3 separate regions of the Homo sapiens genome follow, and all the other regions are linked to region 1. Evidence: promoter capture Hi-C in 16 types of primary human blood cells and fetal thymus (Javierre and others, 2016). All regions are on one chromosome and are shown on one strand. The core of a region is centred on a gene start or on the middle of the fragment in contact, and the rest is flanking DNA. Distances in the headings are between cores, read along the strand shown. Region 1 holds the start of CBX6 (chromobox 6). Region 2 holds the start of SYNGR1 (synaptogyrin 1). Region 3 holds the start of PDGFB (platelet derived growth factor subunit B).

The links. The method cuts DNA at HindIII sites, captures the fragments that hold promoters and counts their contacts. A CHiCAGO score of 5 or more calls a contact.
Region 2: a contact is called between the fragment with the promoter of SYNGR1 here and the fragment with the promoter of CBX6 in region 1, in 7 of 17 cell types (neutrophils, total CD4 T cells, total B cells and 4 more). The highest score is 10.6, in neutrophils.
Region 3: the fragment with the promoter of PDGFB here is called in contact with the fragment with the promoter of CBX6 in region 1 in 1 of 17 cell types (erythroblasts); the score reaches 5.6 in erythroblasts.

The regions. Positions count from the first base shown.
Region 1 is chr22:38,870,949-38,874,204 of GRCh38, reverse strand. CBX6 (chromobox 6) reads left to right here and starts at 1,989. Exons shown (of 5, transcript NM_014292.5): 1 at 1,989-2,083; 2 at 2,260-2,303; 3 at 2,448-2,513; 4 at 2,659-2,725. The coding sequence starts at 2,015. RefSeq lists enhancers at 1-846, 683-1,232, 1,233-1,783 and silencers at 1,778-2,037, 2,068-2,217, 2,318-2,367. The HindIII fragment of the contact is 16,779 bases long and covers 1,058-3,256 here.
Region 2 is chr22:39,348,004-39,351,259 of GRCh38, reverse strand. It overlaps SYNGR1 (synaptogyrin 1), which reads right to left and starts at 1,269. Exons shown (of 4, transcript NM_004711.5): 1 at 1,151-1,269. The coding sequence starts at 1,249. RefSeq lists a silencer at 1,063-1,222. The HindIII fragment of the contact is 7,483 bases long and covers 1-3,256 here.
Region 3 is chr22:39,243,732-39,246,987 of GRCh38, reverse strand. It overlaps PDGFB (platelet derived growth factor subunit B), which reads left to right and starts at 2,006. Exons shown (of 7, transcript NM_002608.4): 1 at 2,006-3,087. The coding sequence starts at 3,025. The HindIII fragment of the contact is 5,201 bases long and covers 1-3,256 here.

The DNA of each region.
Region 1 (3,256 bases), core at 740-3,239:
TTTGTGAGAGCAGCAACACGAAACTCCTACACCTTTATTCTAGCATTAGTCACACTGTGTGACAGGTGCCGTTCTCACTCCACTGACAGCTCCTCAGCCTGGGGCACCTTTGTTTCCTGATGGTTTCACACAAAGCCTGGTGCTTCACAAGGGCTCACAAACACTGCTGAATGAATCAACAAGTGGACTCACCTGCTTCATCCCCCGCCTGTCTCCGTCAGCCTGAACACACACACACTGTCATACCCACTCCTCTCACCTGCTCACCCACCACCACCCACATCTCCCAGGAGGACATTTCTATTTTTACCACAGCAGCTCACCTTGGGCTGGCCAGCAAATAGCTGTTTCCCTGGAACATACTGATTTTAAGTGAGGAGAGGGATTTCTCTCAAGGTAATAATTGGACAAATCTGCTGGGAGAAAAAGACTAACATTTTGCTATGGTGGATTTGAAACCCAAGAATTGGCATTGTAGCACAGAAACGCAAAAATCTTTCCTAATGAGCCATTGATGTTCGCAAGACACAACCCTGACTCTTCACAATCCCCATTCCTCCCCACCCCATCTCAGCCCCAAGGTGGTCACTGGAAGGATGGTGAAATCTGTATTTAATGACACTGAAAGATGTCCACTTTATAGCATTAAGGGAGAAAAGCAGATTCCAGAACAGTGTGAATAGCGTGATCCCATTTTGTTAAAAAATTAAATCTACAGACAATGTGTATGTGTATGTATATACATACATACATAGGTGTACGTGAGTTTATGTACGCATAGAGCAGAGGCTGGAAGATTGGTGAAGATGTTAACAATGGTTTTATGGGGGTTATGGACAGTTGTTTTATCTGTATTTTTAAAATTGTTTTACAAAGAACAAGACTACTAACATAATGGGAAATAAAGTTCAAGTAATTTCAACATTTAAAAAGTGGAGCGTTTTGCGCGGCAGGGCTATTTTTTGTGTGTCCGTTCCTGGACAGCCCCAGCTCGATCCCCCGCCCCTCCTCAAGTGGGAAGCTGGGATCTGGGCTCCCCAGAGCAATGGCGGAAGCTTCGCGCAGCTGCGGGCGGGGAGAGGGACGCGGCCAGGTCGGGGGGCCGGGAGGGGTGCTGGGAATCGGAAAACACAGATATGACCGCGAAGGCGGTTTCTGCCGAATGACCAGATGATGACCCGCTGTGGGCCCAAGGCGGAGTGCGGGGAGCCCGTTCCTGCCCGCGGTCCCTCTCCCTCCCCCACTGCCACACCGGCCCCGCCGAATCCTCCCCGGTCTCCTGGGCGAGGACAGGTGCCGCCCGAGACCCCGGCCGCAGACAGATGCCCACGGTCACTCCGGCCTTCCTCGGCCCCATTCGCCGCACACCCCCTTCCTGCGGTGGCGTTTTTGTTTTAACTCTTCTGAACTGGTTACAAAACCACCCTCCCACGAATACATAAATAATGGGTGGGGGGCGATGTTTTAAAGAAATTCCCGCAAGGCCTGGCAAGGCAACAGCAACTGCATTTCTGCTGCATCATATTTAACTGTTTGCAGGCTGCTGCGGGAGATGCGCGGTGGCGGCGAGACTCGGGCTCCACAGCCCTTCTCCGCCCGGGGCCTGGCGAGACTCGCGTGGGGATTAAGAGGCAAGGAGAGGGTGTCAGCGATCGGGCGCCGGCAAGATGTGAGGGGGGGTGATAAGCGTAAGGCCGCAGCGTGCCCACAAGCCGGGCACCCATCGGGTCGGCCGGCAATTGCTCCCTCCGCCCGCGCGGCCCCTTTAAGAGCCAGCGCGCGCCCCCGCCCCGCGAGCGCCGACTTTCCCTAGCAACCGCCCCGGGGGAGGGGGAGGTCCTGGCAACCGCGCGCCAGCCGCGAGGATCACGTGACGGCCCGCAGCTGGAACGCGAGCGCGCGCCCCGCCGCGCTCCCGCCCGCCGGGGCCTGGGCGCTGCGGCGCGTGCGCGAGCGGTGCCGCACCGGCCGCGGGCGCAGGGAGTATTATGGGCTGTGGGTGCCGCTGAGCAAGATGGAGCTGTCTGCAGTGGGCGAGCGGGTCTTCGCGGCCGAATCCATCATCAAACGGCGGATCCGAAAGGTGAGCCGCCGCCCGGGGCGGGCCGCCGCTGTCCGCAGCCGGGGCCGGGGCCGGGGGCCCTCGGGGCGAAGCGGTCCCGCTAGCCCGGCTCCCTCGCCCAGCCCCGCGCCGCCGCCTCCTCGCGTCCCCGCATCCTCCCCACCCCCACCCCCGTTTTTCTCCCCTCTGTTTTTCAGGGACGCATCGAGTACCTGGTGAAATGGAAGGGGTGGGCGATCAAGTGAGTGTCGCGGGGTCCGGGGGCGTCGCGGGAGGGGAGGCAGCGGGCACCGGGGCCTGGGGTGGGGGTGCGCGCTCTTGCTCTCGCCGCGTGCCTGTCCCTCTCTGGTCTTCATCCTGATTTTGTGCGTTTGTGACTCGGCAGGTACAGCACTTGGGAGCCCGAGGAGAACATCCTGGACTCGCGGCTCATTGCAGCCTTCGAACAAAAGTGAGTTGTTGGGGAAGCTGGCAGGGGCTGCGAGGCCGAGGCTCGGCTGGGGCGCCGCGCGGGGAAGCGGGAGAGCCGGGGAGGGCAGCGCGGAGTGGGGCCCGGGAAGGGGCTCTTTTTAACCTCTGGTGTTTTTCGGCCGCAGGGAGAGGGAGCGTGAGCTGTATGGGCCCAAGAAGAGGGGACCCAAACCCAAAACTTTCCTCCTGAAGGTAACCTGGCCCAGCCCCAGCAGCATCCCCCTCTCGGGCCCCCAGCCCCGGCACAGCACGGGGCCTGGAAGGGAGGGACAGATACGCGGCCGCCCAAGCGGGCCGGCCTTTTCAGAGGGGCCCCAGCTGGGCAGGGGGTGGTTGTGAGCCCCCCCAGAAGCCCCTGATGGCAGGCCTCAGCCAGCATCAGCTTCAACAAGAGGGTTTTGGGACTGGGGATAATCCTCCCTGTTGAAACCAGGGGCTGGGGATGCCTTTAGGGCTCCAGGAAAGGGGGTGGCTGAGGCAGGTGGGGGATGCCCATGGGAAGGGGGCATTTGTTTGAGCTGTTATGACTGTGCTGGGAGTTGGAACCCAGGGGGAGAGTGAGTGGGGTCCCACCTCCTGGCAGGGCACAAGGAGAGGATTTGGGGGACCACCTGCCTCCCTGCCCCCAGCTTCCCCCGTTCAGTCTTTCAGGATTTGTTCTTCATGGCTCCCCTCCTTTCTTGGGGATCCAACTTGAATTTGACCTCAAATCATTTTACTTTG
Region 2 (3,256 bases), core at 20-2,519, 480 kb before region 1:
TCACAGCTGGCCTTGGGGTAGCCCCTGGGGTCCCTGACAGTCTAGCCCATTCCTAGTCTAAGCCCACAAGGAACGGGCCCCAGGCCTGCAGAGGCCAGAACCTCGAGTGGGAGTTTCTGGGATACAGCCAGCCAAACCCAGGGAGCCCCAGAAACCCCCTCTCCAGACCCCAGCAGGGCTTCTTTCCATGAGGTGCCACTCAAGGCACCTGAACCCCTCCCTCTGTGCTCACTGTCTCTGACCCATCCTCTCCCTGACCACCCGTCTGAACAAGAGCCCACTCAGCCCTCTGCACTGAGGACCCTGCCCCCCAGCTAGGCTGGAGGCCACCCTGGCCTCTTCACTGTGGGAGCAGACCTTTCTCCCAGACACCCGCCTTGGGCATCCAGGTGCATGCTGAGTGGGAGGGGTGTTACCGGTTCATGAAATGTCAGAGCCCAAGGGGGCCTCAAGAAGGCTCCGCCCACCTTGTCTATAAATTGGGAAACTGAGGCATGAGAGAGGAGATGACACTCCCCACCTCGGAATTGAAGTCCTCATTTCTCGAGAACATTTCCTGGGTGGCTCCCAGCCCAAGGTCACGCAGAGAAGGAGAGGCAGTTCCCGGGTGGAAGAGAGGTACTCAGTTCCCGACTCATCGCTCCACACGGGCCGGGCTAGGCAATACGAACCCGGTTCCCGGCCCTCTCCTCCTCCAACGTCCATCGCAGGCGCGGCATGCACCCCACCGAGATGGTCCACGCCCTGATCCACCCCCCAAAAAAGGCCACCTTAAACCCTGGCTCCGTCCCCACGGTCCCCAGTCCGCCCTGGCGGCCGCGCACAATCCGAGCCTTTCGCGGCATAGCCGCGGCCTGGAGGTCACAGCAATCGGGGCGGGAAGGGGGGCGCACGAACCGGGGGCCCCAGGAAACCAGGGCTCCGGGAGCCGGAGCGGCGTCTCCCGCGAGCACCAGGGATCCCGCCCGCCCCGGGCCCGGGAAGGAGGAGCGGCGGCAGCGGGCCCCGCAGGCAGGACAGCTCCTCGCCCGCCGCCGCGCCGCCGCCGGGGGCCCGTTGGGGTCGGGGTCGGGGTCGGTCCGGGCGCGCCGCCTTTGCTCACACCCCCACCACCCCGGCCTGGCAGAGCCGTCGGCCAGTCCGTCCTTACCCAAGACACGACGCGCAGGATGGTGTGCGGCTGCCGGACCAGGGTGTAGGGGTCGAAGGCGCCCCCGGCTTTGCCCGCTCCGTACGCACCCCCTTCCATCGTGGCTGCACCCGCGCGGTGCCCCCCGCTCGGCGCGCGCCGCCGGCCCGTGCGCGTGCGCGGCGCCCCCGCCCCCTCCCCTGCGCGCGCGGCCGGCGGCCCAGGGCTCCCGCGAGGGGGCGTCGTGCGCGGCGGGCGCAGCTCGCGGGGCGCGGGCGGGGGGCTGGGCAGCGCGCGACCTCGGGCGCGGGGGCGCGCGTGCTGCGGCCCGGGGCTCAGGGCGCGCTCGCAGCCAGTGCGGTGACCTCTTTGCAAAGTGTTTGGGGGAGGGCGGTGCGTGCACAGCAAGTGTGGGCCGTGTCCCTGCCCCGCATCCCCGGTCCCCTGCCCCGGTCGCAGCCCCTCTGAGCCGTCGGCTCTGCTGAAACCATCTTCACGCTTGATTTGTTTGGCTGTTTCCTGCCACTTTGTCGGCCCCAAATATAATGAGAGGGCAGGAGCTGTGTTCGTCCTTCTTAGAGGGTGCTTGGTACGCAGTAGGCGCCGCATGAATATTTCTCGAATGAATGAACCACGAGTGAATGACCCTCTCTTACAGCCCTCCAGAGCAGCCCCCACCTCCCAGGACCACCCTTCCCCTGCCTCTTACGATGACGTCATGTGTGTCCCTGTGCCCGCGCACCCTCCCACCCCCAGCCTGGAGGGGCCTGGCACAGAGGCGGCGGCTGAGACTTCCTCTTCCCCATCCCCTCCTACCCCAGAACGTTGCCCCTTTCCTGAATCTAGCAATTAATTACGCAATCATTTGTTCATGGCCTCTTCTGCTGCTAGTCTGTGAGCTCCCGAGGCCCAGGTGTTGTCTAACTTATTCAATGCCTTACCCAAGGGCCTAGCATACAGTAGGTGCTCAGTAAACAGAGCCTAGTCCCCATCACCCCATCACAGCTTGGGCTAGACCTCCAGGTTTCATGGAAACGGAGGCTAGATGGAGGAGTGCTCCCTGCAGGGGAAGGGCCACCTTCCAGGGCTGGCTCTCCTGCTGCCCTGTAGCTCTATGGCCTCTCTATGTCTGCAGTCACCTTCACTGGTTCCAGGAGCAGGTTGGATGAGGATATGGGTGGAGGCTTTTGCTTCTCTGGTATCCTGCCATTCTGTGATGACAGGACACAACATCTGTGTGGAGGAAATGTGTGCTGGGCCTGAGGGTGCTCCTTATAAAAATTACATAGTCAATGTCCATCTTAGGCTCAGCTGATTGTTTAGTCTCTACCAGGCCTTGTGCTAAGGGCTTTACATACATTTTCACATTTAATCCAGCACACTTATAAGGTGTCTACTATGACTATATAAAACTTTTAGAAGAAAGCACAAGAGAAGGCCGGGCGCAGTGGTTCACGCCTGTAATCCCAGCACCTTGGGAGGCCAAGGTGGATGGATCACAAGGTCAAGTGATTGAGACCATCCTGGCCAACATGGTGAACCCGGTCTCTACTAAAAATACAAAAATTAGCCGGGCGTGGTGGCGAGCTCCTGTAGTCCCAGCTACTTGGGAGGCTGAGGCAGGAGAATCACTTGAACCCAGGAGGTGGAGGTTGCAGTGAGCCGAGATCGCGCCACAGCACTCCAGCCTGGCAACAGAGCGAGACTCCGTCTCAAAAAAAAAAAAAAAAAAAAAAAATCATGAAGAACATGATTCATAAAAGAAACAATTGATAAACTGGACTTTATCAAAATTAAGAACTTCTGTTCTTTAAAAGACATTGTTAAAAGAATGTATGAAAAGACAAACGATAGTCTGGGAGAAAATATTTGCAAAGCATAGATCTAAAGAACTTGCATCCCAAATAAAGAACGTTCGAACTCAATAATAATAAGAGGACCCACTTTTTAAAAAATGGGCAAAAGATTTGAATAGTTATACACCTCACCAAAGAAGATATACACACGGCAACTCAGCACATAAAAAGATGCCCAGCATCCGCGGTGGCTCACGCCTATAATCCCAGCACTTTGGGAGGCCGAGACGGGCAGATCATGAGGTCAGGAGATTGAGACCATCCTGGCTAA
Region 3 (3,256 bases), core at 757-3,256, 370 kb before region 1:
GCTGTCCGGTGGAAGAGGGTTTTTATCTCTGAGTCGTTAGACTTCAAATCTAGTGTTTGGGGGTTATCTCCTCGTCCCGCTGCCCCATCTCCCTTGTCACCCTGTCTCCTAATTTATCTGTTTATACATCTGGTTGTCCTTCTCAATGGGGCTCTTCAAAGGCAGGGGCCTGCATTAGGCTGGTTCACACCTGTCTCCCCAGTGCCTGGAGCAGTGCGGGGCCACCAGTGAACTTGAAGGCTGCATGGAAGGTTCCAGGCGCTTGCTTCCTGCTAAGGTGTTTTGCTGAGCGCCTCCACATGGAGGACCTCATGGGAGCCTCCAGACCACTCCAGGAGCAGGGTAAAAATTCTCTACAACTGCACTGAGGTACAACAAACTGCACACATTTTGTTGTGATGTACGTATACACCCATAAGCCCATCACCACAATCAAAAATGACAAACATTTCCATCACCACTAAAATTTTGCCATGCCTCTCTGTTCTCTCTCACTCCTTCCCATTATAGATTTATTTTTATTTCTTTAGAGATAGGGTCTTGCTCTGTTGCCCAGGCTGGAGTGCAGTGGCACAGTCACAACTCACTGCAGCCTCAAACTCCTGGGCTCAAAACGATCCACAGTCTCCTGAGTAGCTGGGACTACAGGAGCTTGTTACCACACCCAGCTCCAGTTTATAAATTCATCTCCAGTTTATAAAGGAGGAAACCGAGGTACTGAGAGGTTAAAAAACCTTCCTGCAGACACTTGTCCAGCAAGTGGCCACTCCAGGATTTGGACCAAGGTGATGTGTCTTCAGGCTGTGTCTCTGCCACTGTGCCACGCTGCTGGGTGGTAGGCAGCAGTGGGTGGGTGCCTGCAGTGGTCTGTAAAGACCACCTGAGATGTCCTTCCTCCTCTGTTCCACCCTGTCCAGGTCCAAGAAGACAGTCTATGAAGAGAGAGCAGGTGTGACTCTCTCAGTGTGCTCCTCTGTGAGAAGCAGGCTGACATCCCAAAGGGAAGGGCGGATAACAGAGACAGTGCAAGCGGAGGAGATGAGGGTGCCTCAAAGCCGGGAGGCTGGGTGATGCAGGAGCCTGCGTGTCCCGAGGGGGGTGCTGGGCCCAGTGTGAGTACGTGTGACTGTGACTGAGACAGTGTGACTGCTGAAGGCAGGGACACAGCAGCTCCCTGACTGGGGGCAGAAGGCGTTAACTGTGTGAAGGCTGGTTGTGGGTGGGTGGGCTCTGGGCCTCGAACCCGGGGGCTGAGGGAGATAGTAAACAGCAGGGTGACTGACGGGAAGATCATGTTGGTAGCCCTGCGAAGATGCTGCAGGGCTGTGGGGGTTTGTGTGACTTTGCAGTTCAACAAATTCAAATTCAGCCAACGCTGGCAGGGCCTGTTGTGCCAGGCAACCAGCTAGGAGGAGGAGACTCGGACCCAGCTTGCAGCTGAAGGGCGCTGGCTGCCGGGTTCTGTGGGTTCACCTTGCGGTGTCTTCCCTTGCTAACACTGAGTCCTTACAATAGCCCCATCTCCAGGTTGAGGCTAGATGGAGGGGACAGAGGGAAGTGACTTGCCCAAGGTGACCCAAGCTCCCGAGTGCCAGGGCAGGATCTGAATTCAGGCTCTCAGACTGCAGAGCCTGAGTCCCTCCCTGCCATGCCTGTGCCAGGGTGGAAATGTCTGGTCCTGGAGGGGAGCGTGGACTCCTGGCCTTGGCTCTGGAGACATCCCCCTAGACCACGTGGGCTCCTAACCTGTCCATGGTCACTGTGCTGAGGGGCGGGACGGTGGGTCACCCCTAGTTCTTTTTTCCCCAGGGCCAGATTCATGGACTGAAGGGTTGCTCGGCTCTCAGAGACCCCCTAAGCGCCCCGCCCTGGCCCCAAGCCCTCCCCCAGCTCCCGCGTCCCCCCCCTCCTGGCGCTGACTCCGGGCCAGAAGAGGAAAGGCTGTCTCCACCCACCTCTCGCACTCTCCCTTCTCCTTTATAAAGGCCGGAACAGCTGAAAGGGTGGCAACTTCTCCTCCTGCAGCCGGGAGCGGCCTGCCTGCCTCCCTGCGCACCCGCAGCCTCCCCCGCTGCCTCCCTAGGGCTCCCCTCCGGCCGCCAGCGCCCATTTTTCATTCCCTAGATAGAGATACTTTGCGCGCACACACATACATACGCGCGCAAAAAGGAAAAAAAAAAAAAAAAGCCCACCCTCCAGCCTCGCTGCAAAGAGAAAACCGGAGCAGCCGCAGCTCGCAGCTCGCAGCTCGCAGCCCGCAGCCCGCAGAGGACGCCCAGAGCGGCGAGCGGGCGGGCAGACGGACCGACGGACTCGCGCCGCGTCCACCTGTCGGCCGGGCCCAGCCGAGCGCGCAGCGGGCACGCCGCGCGCGCGGAGCAGCCGTGCCCGCCGCCCGGGCCCCGCGCCAGGGCGCACACGCTCCCGCCCCCCTACCCGGCCCGGGCGGGAGTTTGCACCTCTCCCTGCCCGGGTGCTCGAGCTGCCGTTGCAAAGCCAACTTTGGAAAAAGTTTTTTGGGGGAGACTTGGGCCTTGAGGTGCCCAGCTCCGCGCTTTCCGATTTTGGGGGCCTTTCCAGAAAATGTTGCAAAAAAGCTAAGCCGGCGGGCAGAGGAAAACGCCTGTAGCCGGCGAGTGAAGACGAACCATCGACTGCCGTGTTCCTTTTCCTCTTGGAGGTTGGAGTCCCCTGGGCGCCCCCACACGGCTAGACGCCTCGGCTGGTTCGCGACGCAGCCCCCCGGCCGTGGATGCTCACTCGGGCTCGGGATCCGCCCAGGTAGCGGCCTCGGACCCAGGTCCTGCGCCCAGGTCCTCCCCTGCCCCCCAGCGACGGAGCCGGGGCCGGGGGCGGCGGCGCCCGGGGGCCATGCGGGTGAGCCGCGGCTGCAGAGGCCTGAGCGCCTGATCGCCGCGGACCCGAGCCGAGCCCACCCCCCTCCCCAGCCCCCCACCCTGGCCGCGGGGGCGGCGCGCTCGATCTACGCGTCCGGGGCCCCGCGGGGCCGGGCCCGGAGTCGGCATGAATCGCTGCTGGGCGCTCTTCCTGTCTCTCTGCTGCTACCTGCGTCTGGTCAGCGCCGAGGTGAGTTGCCACGGCGGCTGGGGCTGGTTCTTCATTCATTACCTTCGCCCCCCCCTTCTGACCGCCCCCTCCTCTCCCTGCAGTGAACTTTGGACCCTTGCAGCCCGCGAGCCTGACGCCGGGCGCTGGGTGACCTCTTCGGGCTGGGAGCGAGGTCCGGGGGTGACAG